Linked DNA regions of Homo sapiens: region 2 is linked to region 1. The links are contacts of gene promoters, found by promoter capture Hi-C in human tissues and cell types (Jung and others, 2019). All regions are on one chromosome and are shown on one strand. The core of a region is centred on a gene start or on the middle of the fragment in contact, and the rest is flanking DNA. Distances in the headings are between cores, read along the strand shown. Region 1 holds the start of CA8 (carbonic anhydrase 8). Region 2 holds the start of LOC105375861 (a long non-coding RNA gene).

Region 1 (5,447 bases), core at 2,379-4,878:
GGGAAAAAACAACTACTCAAGACATGGTTATTTTGGTTACTTTTCTTGAGTTTGCAGAAATATTGGAAGGGAAAGAACAATAAGGAGGAAATTATTACCATGACAGAGAGGATAAGGGGAATCTGAAGGAGGAAGGTCTCCAGGGAGGCAGGAAAAAAGGGTTCTGGATCATGAGTATCCAAATCAGGCCTAGACAGAAGTGCAGACACTTCTTCTTCAGTGGGCAGGGGTGGAAGAAGGAGGAAGAGAAAAGCACAAAATGCTAGGTGAGGAAGAAACACACTTCATGGTGAGAGGGCCCAGATGTTGGTCCATAGTCTCTGTTTTAGAGTGAGGCAGAAGATTAAAGAAAATTGTGTTTGAGAAGGTAGCAGAAGAAAATGGTAAGTTCAAATTGATGAAGTAAATTTTATCTCAGAGCAGGACTAGGCACACACAGATGCAGTGGAGTATATGTGCTTAGTCATTGCTCTCTGCTCCCACAACCCTTTGTAACACTTGCCACATCAAGTGTACACTAGTACTTTAAAGAACTGGCTTTTCACTAGGCTATGAATCCTCAAGAACTGTCTTATAAATTTATATGCAACCAATATTGATCATGGCACCTGACATGAAATGTATTTTTGTTTTGTGGATATATAAACATTTATTTCCGGAAGTTCAAAGCATCTCAACACATCAACACACATGTACTTCTTTAAATTGCTTTTTATATGCCAGAACAGTCAGCATTCAATAATTTTACAATATCCTTTAAAAAACAGTAAGTAATGTCCCATCAAAGCTAAACCCACACCCCCAAAAAAATTCAAGTCGAAATTTCCATCTTAAACTGACTCTGACTAAGTACATATAAAGCCCAGTAACTCTTTTGGGCAATGCTCACATGCTGACTAAACTCAGAACAGCGAAGGAGACTACATGAATCTATGACTATCTCATGGATTCTAAATTAAAGCTTAGAAACATTTACAATGAATAAAATAAATCCATAGCTGGAAATCAACAGCTGCCTTGATTAATAACAAACCTAAAGATTTTATAGTTTGAGGTATCAACTTTATCAACTTGGAATTAATTTTCGAGCACAGTCTCTATTTATCAAGTACGTCCTAATATTTCAACATACTTTAATTTTTCCCAAAAGAAAAAGACAGTTATTATTCACTATGAAATGCATGCTATTAATGCTACATTTTTTAAAAATCTGATTTCCTCTTTCCTACGATAAAGCCAAAAACTGATTTCCTTGGTAATTACCTAACAACTTTTGCACAGAACATTTCAGATCCATCTCAAATAGGTTTGCAAGTGGTAGGAGAAGTTTCATGGGATGGAACTTAAATAAATAAATAAATAAATAAATAAAAGGAAGAGGTTTGTTTACCATTTAAATCTCTGGCTGAGTTTAGAGGCTGTTTCTTATTGTTATTAGTTAAAATTATTTTTGGCAAACTAATACAGTAGAGAAAATTAACCTGAGAAGTCTACCTTGAATGCCACGTTATGTCAATAAATTCTAATCTTTGGTTTCACAAAGTAGCAAAACAGAGAATTATGATTATCTAAGTGATTTAAGCTAATCAACAATTTTGGACAAAACGCAGATTACTGCACCTGCATGTACCTGTCCTCATATTTCACAAGGTATAAGGTGATCAAACTAAGGTTTTTCCAGTAACATCATAAGAAGCAGAACAACCGACTGATAATCTTCATAATTTCACTCTTTTGTCCTTTCAAAATTGTTTCAGAAGGTAATTCCCAAAAATGCTTTATATTATAATACAAAGGTATCCTGAAAATAGAGATACGTCAGTTGTACTTTTTAAATTGTGCAAGTTAAATCACAGTTCAATAACTCTACGCTGACTTCTAGTTTAAAAGACCACACAAACATATTTTCTAAAATACCTGATTTTGACTTCAGGATAACCTGAATGGTATGTCCATCATTGGTGACTTCACAGTCTCGGCACACCACATAATTTGGGGAGAGGCGGACATCCAACAGCGAGGGGTCATACCTAGCCTCTCTTGAGTTTAGGTTAATAGGAGACTGGTATTCCCCATTAGCATCAGGAAACACCAGACCCCACTCAACACCTAAGAACAAAATGAAATAAATTAAAAACAGGTTAAAAAATAAATTACAGTAAAATTTAACATGTAAAAACTAAACACTTAGAACCCTTGATATCATGAAGAGAGTAATGATACCATCACTATACAGATGAAATATGGTAATTCTATTTGTTTTTGCATTCATTATTTGAATGATCTGTTATTATCAAATACCATACACAAAATCCCGGACTAGCAAAATATTCTATTTGTATTTGTCAACAAAGACATAATAATTTATGATTCTAGGAAATTTGGGTCATTTTTAAGTGATTAGGAAAAAAGAATACCAGAACAATTTCTTCTGCTTATTAGTTCAATTACGTTCAGTACCTGGGAAACAGCTGTAACTTTCAACATACTTAGTGACAGTCAGAACCCTAACTCTCATGCTAGTAAATAGACGCCCCTTATCAGAAATGCAAGTGTAGTATTTTAAAGTGTGCATATGTATATATCTGTGTACATACATATTCCCATAGTCTTTCCAAATTTTTTATAATTAAAATTATATATTCTATATTGGTTTCAACATATGTAGTAAACATCAGCACTACTGGTTGGCTCTAATAGGAGCCCTAGGTCTTTAGGAATAAATCTAGGAAACTCGAGTTTTTCAGAAAGTCAACCGCTTCTCGCCAAACCCAATGATTCAGTCTGAAATTTAGGACATGTTTTAGAAAGACTTGAGCATTGCTAGCAGGCTTCACGAAAAGACCAGAGGCAGAAACACTTTCTCCCCAAAGTCTCCAAGCCAAAAACGAATTCTTCACGCTAACACTGTCTTCCTCAGGTGTTTAGTAAAATGTACCGCTGCTCTTCTTGACTACTCAGAAGACATAAAAGGTACAGCCACGGCTTGGAGGCTAGCCCGCCCTCCGGACCGCAGCAGGTGCGAACGCCAGCCCTGCGGAAGGCTCCCGGGTGAGAGCGCAGGCGGCGGAAGAGCGCAGGCGGCGAGCACGCCTCCCTGGAGCGCCTCCCGCCCGAAACGCACCAGGGGAGTGGGAAAGTGGCAGAGACCCCCGTGGGAAAGAGGGGGCGTGGGGGTGCTCGGAGCGCGCAGCGGCAGCAGGACTCGAGTCCCGCGCTCGGCGAGACACTGACGCCGCCGCGGGACCCCGGACACCCCGACTCGCGGCCACTTACCTTCCTCGTAGCCCCACTCCACACCCTCCTCTTCTTCCTCCTCATCCTCTTCCTTCTCGGGGAAGGCGACGGTATCTTCGATGAAGCTCAGGTCCGCCATGGGAAGGCCGCGGGGCCCCTCGGCGCTCTCGGCAGCAGTGCCTGCGCCTTCGCTGGGCGCGGGGCTGGAGCCGGAGCGGAGCGCGCGTGGGGGAGTGTGAGCACGCGTGAGCGGCAGTGTGAGTGCGAGAGCGCCTCCGGGTGTGAACCGCAGTGTGAGTGCAAGCAGGCGTGCGTTCGGACCGAGTGTTCCAGAGACCCGCGTGGGAAGCGCGTCCGGAGGCCCCAGCAGAGCGAGGGAGCGGCTGTGGCCTGGGGAGCGAGCGCCTGGCGAATTTTATACCCGACCGGGGCGTGTCTGGTACGCGAGGATCCGCCCCCTTCTCTCTCTGGCCGTTGGGGCCAGGGGAGCCGACAGTTAGAATGCGCCTCGGGGCGACTAGTCCCAAGTCACGGAAACCTCGGCGCATCCCCGCCCGCCCTTCCCCCGGGGTCGCCCCCGCCGCCTCCTGGCGCTTCCTCGCTGCGGCGACTCCTGCTTGGCCGCCCGAGCCTTCCTTCCAGAAGCCCGCAAGTCTCCCAAGGTCACTCGGGACCCCTGTGTGCCTGGCCTAGCCCAGAGGCTGCTCACCTATTCATTTTCATCCGTACTCCAGGAAATACCAAAAAGAAGGGGTCCTGGAGGAGAGAGATGGGCTGCCGTGGGTAGGAGAAAGGAGAGGGCTAGGAGACCCCGTAACACAATAAAAAGAGACTCTCCAGCGGAATCTTCTTAGTATCTTCTGAGTATTTACTTTTTAAATCGTCCGTTCAGCGCAGTGGAAACGAGTTTGGAAATTTTTCCAAGAAAGTTCTATTAATTCCTAAAAACGTTTAAGAAAAGAAAATGGTTGTTATCTAGAGAAGTAGCTATGATTTAGGGTTGTGTTTTTTTTTTTTTTTTTTCCAGAAAAGGGTATTGTTTCAAAGCAGGGCTAGCAGAAGGCAGTAGACAGAGGGTGTTCGCTGTCAGAGTCTGGGGCGCTGCTGCAGGCTCACCTGGCTGTGTACACAGCTCCCATTCACCTAGTGAAATCGTGTAAATAATGAAGTGCACACATTGCATAACAAACAGGAACTCTTCTGATCCAAAGAGGTGGCATTGTTACCCTTAAACGTGCTTCTCAGTCTAGTGTTAACGACTTCAGCCCTCTGTTCCTGTGCCTTTTAAAAGCCCTGGTCAGTAACCCCTAAGTAGGTTAACTCCACATTTTTAGAAGATATATGTGCACAATAAACTCGAGTTAGGACCTTAAGTACAATTTGTTTTTTATATGCTCTGGTCATTCATGAAGATATCTATTTGCACTTTGAATAACCTGTTCCTAAATCACACCAGCCTTATGAATGCATAATTCCTCAAATAAGGATGGAAATGATCCGTTTGGGAATGTTTAGTTTCAGTGCTCATATCCTTTACTGCCTGCTAAGCACCTCCACTTTTTAAAAAGACACTTCATAGCTTTTAAAAAAAAAAAATTACAAACTGCTCCAGAAAGTACACTGAGATGGAAAGAAGTGGGGGGAACCCTCAACTCGCTCAATTCTGCCACTTTCTGGAAGGTTTAACCAAATATATGGAAAACTACTGGCCAACATTAGCTTGGAGGATAACCGGTGGATTTTAAGCATTCATATAATTTCTCTTTTCCTTAACTGTGCAGAGGACTGAAACAGTTTGAGAAACTAAATTCATTTTTCACTCACTGCATTCTGGGTGTTCTTTAGTGGACGGTCGTTTGCATCTTTGCAAGCCTGGGACTGGCAGAAGCAGAAGCCTACCCCAAAGCCAGAGCTATTAAAAATAATAAGCACTACTGAAAATATTAACTACTTTTCACTGAAGGTCTTCTAAAAGGAACATTTATTTTTCCTTTCTTGAAAACTTTTTTGTAATCTTCTATTTGTTTTAAGTTTCTTTTTAGAAGTATGTTCACACGTTAATTAAATGCCACAGCTAAGGAAGCCCATACAAAGGCTATGAAGGAATTGGATAATAAAAGCACTGCCACTCTGAGCTCATCAGCAATGGCCTTTCTCCTCTGTCCCCCAAATGTGCCTAAGTATGACATTGTAGCCATTGTGTGACCACC
Region 2 (5,988 bases), core at 1,234-3,733, 240 kb before region 1:
GGCAAGAACAGAATAGATACAACTATTTGATAGGGTAATTTAGCAGTGAACATTAATTGAAATATACGTATATTTTTACTTCATTTTTATGATACTAATACTTCATGTTCATTACAATGTTGAAAAGTAGTGCCACCAGCTAAAGATAATCATTTTTACATTTTGACATACATTCTTCTAGCCTCTTTAATGTACCTTTTATGTAGTTGCTATACTATACAACTCTGTGTGTGTGTGTGTCTGTGTGCGCGCATGCGCACGTGTGTGTGTATTGACTTCTGGATAGCCTCTTTTCATAGGAAGGAATAAGCGCTTTGTACATTAGCGCAAATACTTTGTAATTATCACTTTTTAAAATTGTGTAATTGTTTATAATGTGATTATATTGTAATTTTACTGAACCAAATGTGAAACATTAAAGACATGGTCTCTGTTAGTTTTTCTGCTTTATAAATAATGCTGTAGTGAACATCTTTGAATTATTGCCCCAGAATGTATTCCCCAAGTAGAATTAACATTTCTAGAATATAACAAGTGGTATTAAAAGCAGTGGGCACCTACTTACATGTCACACCACTCTTTGTTTCAGTTTTTTAGTGGCTGATGTGATATACTCAGCATTAGAGCCATGTGAACAATGGAACCCTCCTGGGTCTTGTGGGGTCTACACTTCCTCATACTCTCAGCCATCAGTCACAGAGACCTTACTTTTGTTCCTTTCTAATGCTTTTCTCAATCAGTTCACTTAAAGAATAAAAGGTTTCCAGTATTTCATCTTCTAGGGACTTAATAAACACCCTATTAAAGTTTCTTTAGGCATGGCTAAATTGGGATGGCTTTTCAGATGAGATCTGACGAAGTTCTGATATGCCAGGCACTTTATTATTTCGAGCCAATTTAATCTTCACACTTCCAACGTTCAGTACCCAACCTATTGCCCTCATGGTCTGCTCTAACAATCCAGATTTCTTAATAAAGTTTTATCCCTGTAGTGAGCCTGTGCTTAATAAGGTGAAAATGATGTTATGGACCAAATTGTGTCCTCCTGAAATCTGTATGTTGAAACCCTTACCCCAGTGTGACTGTATTTGGAGATAAAATCTTTAAAGATCTTTAATTAAGGTTAAATTATGTCATAAGAGTGGGGCCCTTATTCAGTAGCACTAGTGTGCTTCTAAGAAGAGGAGGAGACAGCAAGAGTGCATGCACAGAGAAGAGGCCATGTGAGGACGCAGGGCGGAGGCAGCTGTCCGCAAGCCAAGGAGAAAGGTGTCACAATAAACCTAACCTGCTGACATATTGATCTCGGGCTCCCAGCCTCCAGAACTGTGACAAAATACATTTCTGTTTCTTAGGCCATTTGGTCTGTGGTATTCTGTTATGGTAGCCCAAGCAGACTAATAGTGATGGGTGAGTCTCTGTCCTCAAGGGATTCAAAACCTAGTTGTGAGAAAAATGTGTAATCCACTTTGCCTCAAGCCTCATAAGCCCAGGCCAGGCCATCCAGCAACAATACGATAGCAGCCCTGTGCCAGATGAACCTCCTTCTGCAGAGCACGGCAATCCCCGCCTGACTTAGACTTGTGCAACTAATTAAGGAAATGCTCGGGTTCTGCTGTAGCATCAAAAGTGTGCTGGCAAATCTAGCTATTCTGCACACCATGTGGTATGCTTCCCATTTGTGCTCACTACAGCCACATGAATTCCATTCGATTCTCTAAGGTCTGCTGTTGCCACAGTGTAGAAATTTCAGCCCAGCATAAAAGTACCTGGGTCACAGAGATGACCGCAGACTTCCCCTCTTCTTATGGATGACTATATGCCATGGGGAATCCTCTTTGCTCTACCCATGCCATGAATGCCTCAGTAGTTACTTCAGTAAAATAGGTGGAATAGTATCAGTCTGCAGCCTAAGCACAAAATCAGGTAGACATTTGATTTCAGTTTGAATTGCCTAGTATTTTATAAGCTAAACTTTGGAACCCATTTATCTCAAGTCTTCAGAAAAAACCTTGGGGATCTAGGCCAAAGAAACATTTGAGAAAAATACAAAAAGCTGTATTTCAATATGCCTTTTTGGCCAGGTTTTTCCCCTGGACTTTCACCCCTCAAAAGCACATTTCTTTCCTTAAGTCTCTTAGAATCCTCATGAAAATAGACGTTTGGGGTGCTGCCCCCAAATCCCTCTAAATAAGCCTGGTCATGTCTGACCTCATAACATGTGTACATCTGGGCTCCTCCTTGAGGACACACACTGGATAAAGCACATATGTATAAGGAAATATATGTGATACAGAATTGTGATGTGTATGTAGTAAAAACAGAAGCTAGTTTTTATGGAGCACATATTATGTACCCGGACTTGGTACTTTATCTGAATTTGATTCTTCAATTCCCACATATTCCCTAGATGAGAGATAATATGACTGCTCTGACCTGCAGAGGTGAGAAACATAGCTTAGACATATTAAACAACTCACCCAAAGACAGCGAAAGAACAAGGAGTCAAACCCAAGTCCCTTAACTCTGGAGGCTACACTATAACCTTACAAACTGTGCCCAACATGTACTGAAGAAGAATTACTATGAGAGGTTCAAAGCAACAAGACATTGGTGTTCCTTAGAGCAATGGTCTATTGAAGAGGTAGAACTGAAAATGGCCCTTGAAAGAGGGGTAGAGTACAAAGGTGTGGAAGCTTAACATAGGTATGGAGGATTAGAGAAGAGTCAGATTAAAATCTTTAAGAGTAAGGTTTCTATGGGATGTCAAATGTGCTGAGGACTTCAGATTTAATGCAGAGGAAGCTGCAACAGTGAAATTATAATGATCTGTCCACGAAGGCTGCTCACCCACAGGGTAAGAAACAGCAATGGTCCTAAGCTAACATGAGAGATTTCAAGCTTTCACAATGATGATGGGAGTGATGCACTCAGTAAGAGCATGTTTCACCAAGGAAGATGGCCATGCATCTTCAAAGGCTGAGGGGAACAAGCATTCTCTAATTCCCATGGAGACCTAGAAGAGTTCCTCATTGTGGAGTCATGCAAGCCCATTTCTTAGCTGGATGGGTGAAGTGTTCCCTCAGTTCACATAGACCAGGCTTCCTCTTTAGAGGCATAAGCTGTAAAACAGGAGAGTCTGTTTTAAGAGGATCTGTTTGAAGTTTAATGTAACTGAAGTCCATGCACCTGAAGCCATTAATTGATATAAGTGGTATGTACTTGTGTATATGTACGTGTGTCTCTATGTTTCTGTATGTTTATGTATGTATTTATGCATACGTGTATGCAATTGAAAAAAATCATAAACTACTCATTTTCCACTGACAGCATAGTTTAAAGATGATAGAAACTGTGTGGGCATTAGTCAGTCGTTGGAAAAGATCTCTCTCTTTTTGGAAATCTGTGGCTGAGGTAGAGAATGATGAGCAATATAAGACACCAGTTAACCTTTATACCTAGCTCTGAATTCCAAAAGAGAAATAAAGGCTGCTCAACACATTCATCTTCCTGCCTCAATTACTTGAAGTGGATAATCAGCTTAACGCTATCAGGACGATGCTGAATATGTGTTGATTTTTCTTTGTTATTGATTGCTGTGCTTTGACACACTGTTCTCGTGATTATGCGCGCAGGCACCACCTGGCACCATTGTCTACCTTCACTATTCACACATCAGGTGATCATTTTTGCGGTTTTTTTCTTCATTGCATATAGTTGCCAATGGAAATGCCTAGAACTTAAGGCATGGTTTAGTGGCTTAAATAACAGTATATGTTTTAAAGTACTATTTGGTGAAAACTAAGCAGTTTTAGACAGAAATCTTCCCTGAAATCCAATGGCCGTTTTGTTTAGAGTACATTTTACTCAAGTTGCTCACAAATGCTGCTTTACATTTTAGGTAACTCTGAAGTTTCTTAATAGGTAAATATCCAAATGTAAGTAGTAGGTGAACAATGGCACACATTCTTTGCACTAATGTATTTATGTGAGCAAGCATATATGTTTTTACATTTATTGAATAGCAATTATAATGAAAACTATTATTGTCTGCTTCCACAAAGAAGCAAATGCTTACATAGGACACTTGTTTCAGCCTCCCCACCTGTTCACCTGGCACCATGGCCCACACATAATCGAGAGCAAAGCTTGTGCCCTCTACCTAGGACACCTGAGCCAGCACCCACATTGCTCCTGCAGAGAGCACTCTGCAGACCTGGTTGTTGTCTTTGTGAGCAGTGCCCAACAAAAACAAAATCTTCCAGAAAAAACTGTCTCAACCAATCCTCTACTCTCAAGATAGAATTGCAGGGGCACATGAGCCTTCTATATCTCCATGGCTCCCATTTTATAAAAGGATCAACTGCTTTGACTGCCCATAGTCTGTTGTCCTTGAGGAACTTCACAAGCTTTTTCTTGCCCCAACCCCATTGGGGTGCTTGAGGTTTAGTGTTTTTCTGACCATAAGCCAACAAGAGCCAAGCCCCTGAGTATCCTGGAAGCCTGACTTCAGTCTTCACTAAACACATGGGTCTAGTGTTGATTTGTGCCTCCTCACCTTCTATGCAGTGTGCTCAGGACTGAGCTTCTGAAGGCCACCGTGAGCATGAGATTTCCACGTCCCACCCAACATATCCTTGCTAACATGGGTCATATGAAGTCACAACTCTCACAGTCCTTTGTAACTTGCTGACTCTCCTAGGACGGGACCACTGTACTGTTCCAACTAAGTGCCAGACTCCACAATGCCTTCTGTGACAGGCCACTTGTTCAATAGGTTAATGACAGGTCTCTAACTTGCCCTGGAGCACTGGCCCTTCAGCTGACCGCAGATGCCCTTAATTGGGAATTGTCCTTTACAATTTCTCAATCAGAGACTACAGCGATTGCTTCTTCACAGAGAAACTAGAGCCTGCTCTCTCTGCAGATGTGGCTTTACTTCAGGATTGAAGGAATGTCCCATTTAAAAGCAGAATCTGCAGAGATGAGTTACAGCTCAGGAAATAACACTATGTCATCTAAGTTAACAGAAGCATACCCGTTGTTGATATATTTAATCTAAAATGAAGATAAAAAAGGAATCTCACTGGTTGGTGTATACAACCAGTGTTGTATAAAAAATTCTGAGTACAAAAAATTCTTACTATCGTGTGCTGGTCACCAATGTTAAGGGGGCAGATGACTGCTCTAAAGTTTGCCATACTAAGAAAGAAGCCAGTGTAAAAGAAAAAGTTTCACACTATACACCTCTTCCCCACAACACACACACACACACAGCACATGCATAACAATGTTTCAGTCCTCCTAAGAATCGGCCGGGACAATAAGATTTGGACTTTAAAACAAGCTAATACTATTGCTTCTTTGCTTTATGTTTAAGAGAGATACAACCAGTGAATTGACTCATTTTTATTTTCATATAAAACTGTTTTTCTGGCACCTAAGGCTTTTGTAGACATTTATCATTTTGCTTCTCTCAGATAACACAAAAATTGATTTTTTTAGTATTCAGACCTCTTATTTTCCCCTGCATCACTTGTCAGCTTCCAAACAATCTATAACTACAAGACAAGCAATGAAAAGGGTGCATGTTCACAGTAGGCCCCATCTTGAGCTACACAACTGTGAGACACACTGAACTGCTGGTGTCCATTTGGCACTCACAATGGACCAAGGACCGGAAATTTGGGCTGCAGCTGAATTGCAAGAAAAAACATAGAAAGTAGTAAAAAAGATGTTGCCATGGGGTTTCCCTCCTTTGTCTTTTCTCCGCAAAGCATATCATCCTTTCCTCTTTTACAGAAGTAAGTCTTTGGGTTTCCGGTAGCTCTGACTCAGATTCTGCTTGCCTCTTCTCCATGAGATTACCAAGGCATCAGGGCAGAGACTCCCTGAGGTGAGCATTGGGCTTTTGCCCATGGTGGGAAGTGACTTGATCACACCAGTGCAGTCAGCTGAGGAGCGGGTGCAAGGGAGGCCAGATCTTGA

What was found. Contacts are between HindIII fragments. The study calls those that stand out against the background at their distance.
Region 2: a fragment that was not itself captured here is called in contact with the fragment with the promoter of CA8 in region 1 in 3 of the 25 tissues and cell types used here (H1 embryonic stem cells, heart left ventricle and spleen).

Annotation. Positions count from the first base shown.
Region 1 is chr8:60,277,772-60,283,218 of GRCh38, forward strand. It overlaps CA8 (carbonic anhydrase 8), which reads right to left and starts at 3,629. Exons shown (of 9, transcript NM_004056.6): 1 at 3,277-3,629; 2 at 1,918-2,109. The coding sequence starts at 3,376. RefSeq lists an enhancer at 3,105-3,611 and a silencer at 3,604-3,812. The HindIII fragment of the contact is 7,867 bases long and covers 1-5,447 here.
Region 2 is chr8:60,043,724-60,049,711 of GRCh38, forward strand. LOC105375861 (a long non-coding RNA gene) reads left to right here and starts at 3,085. Exons shown (of 4, transcript XR_007060918.1): 1 at 3,085-3,214; 2 at 5,803-5,896. The HindIII fragment of the contact is 3,589 bases long and covers 690-4,278 here.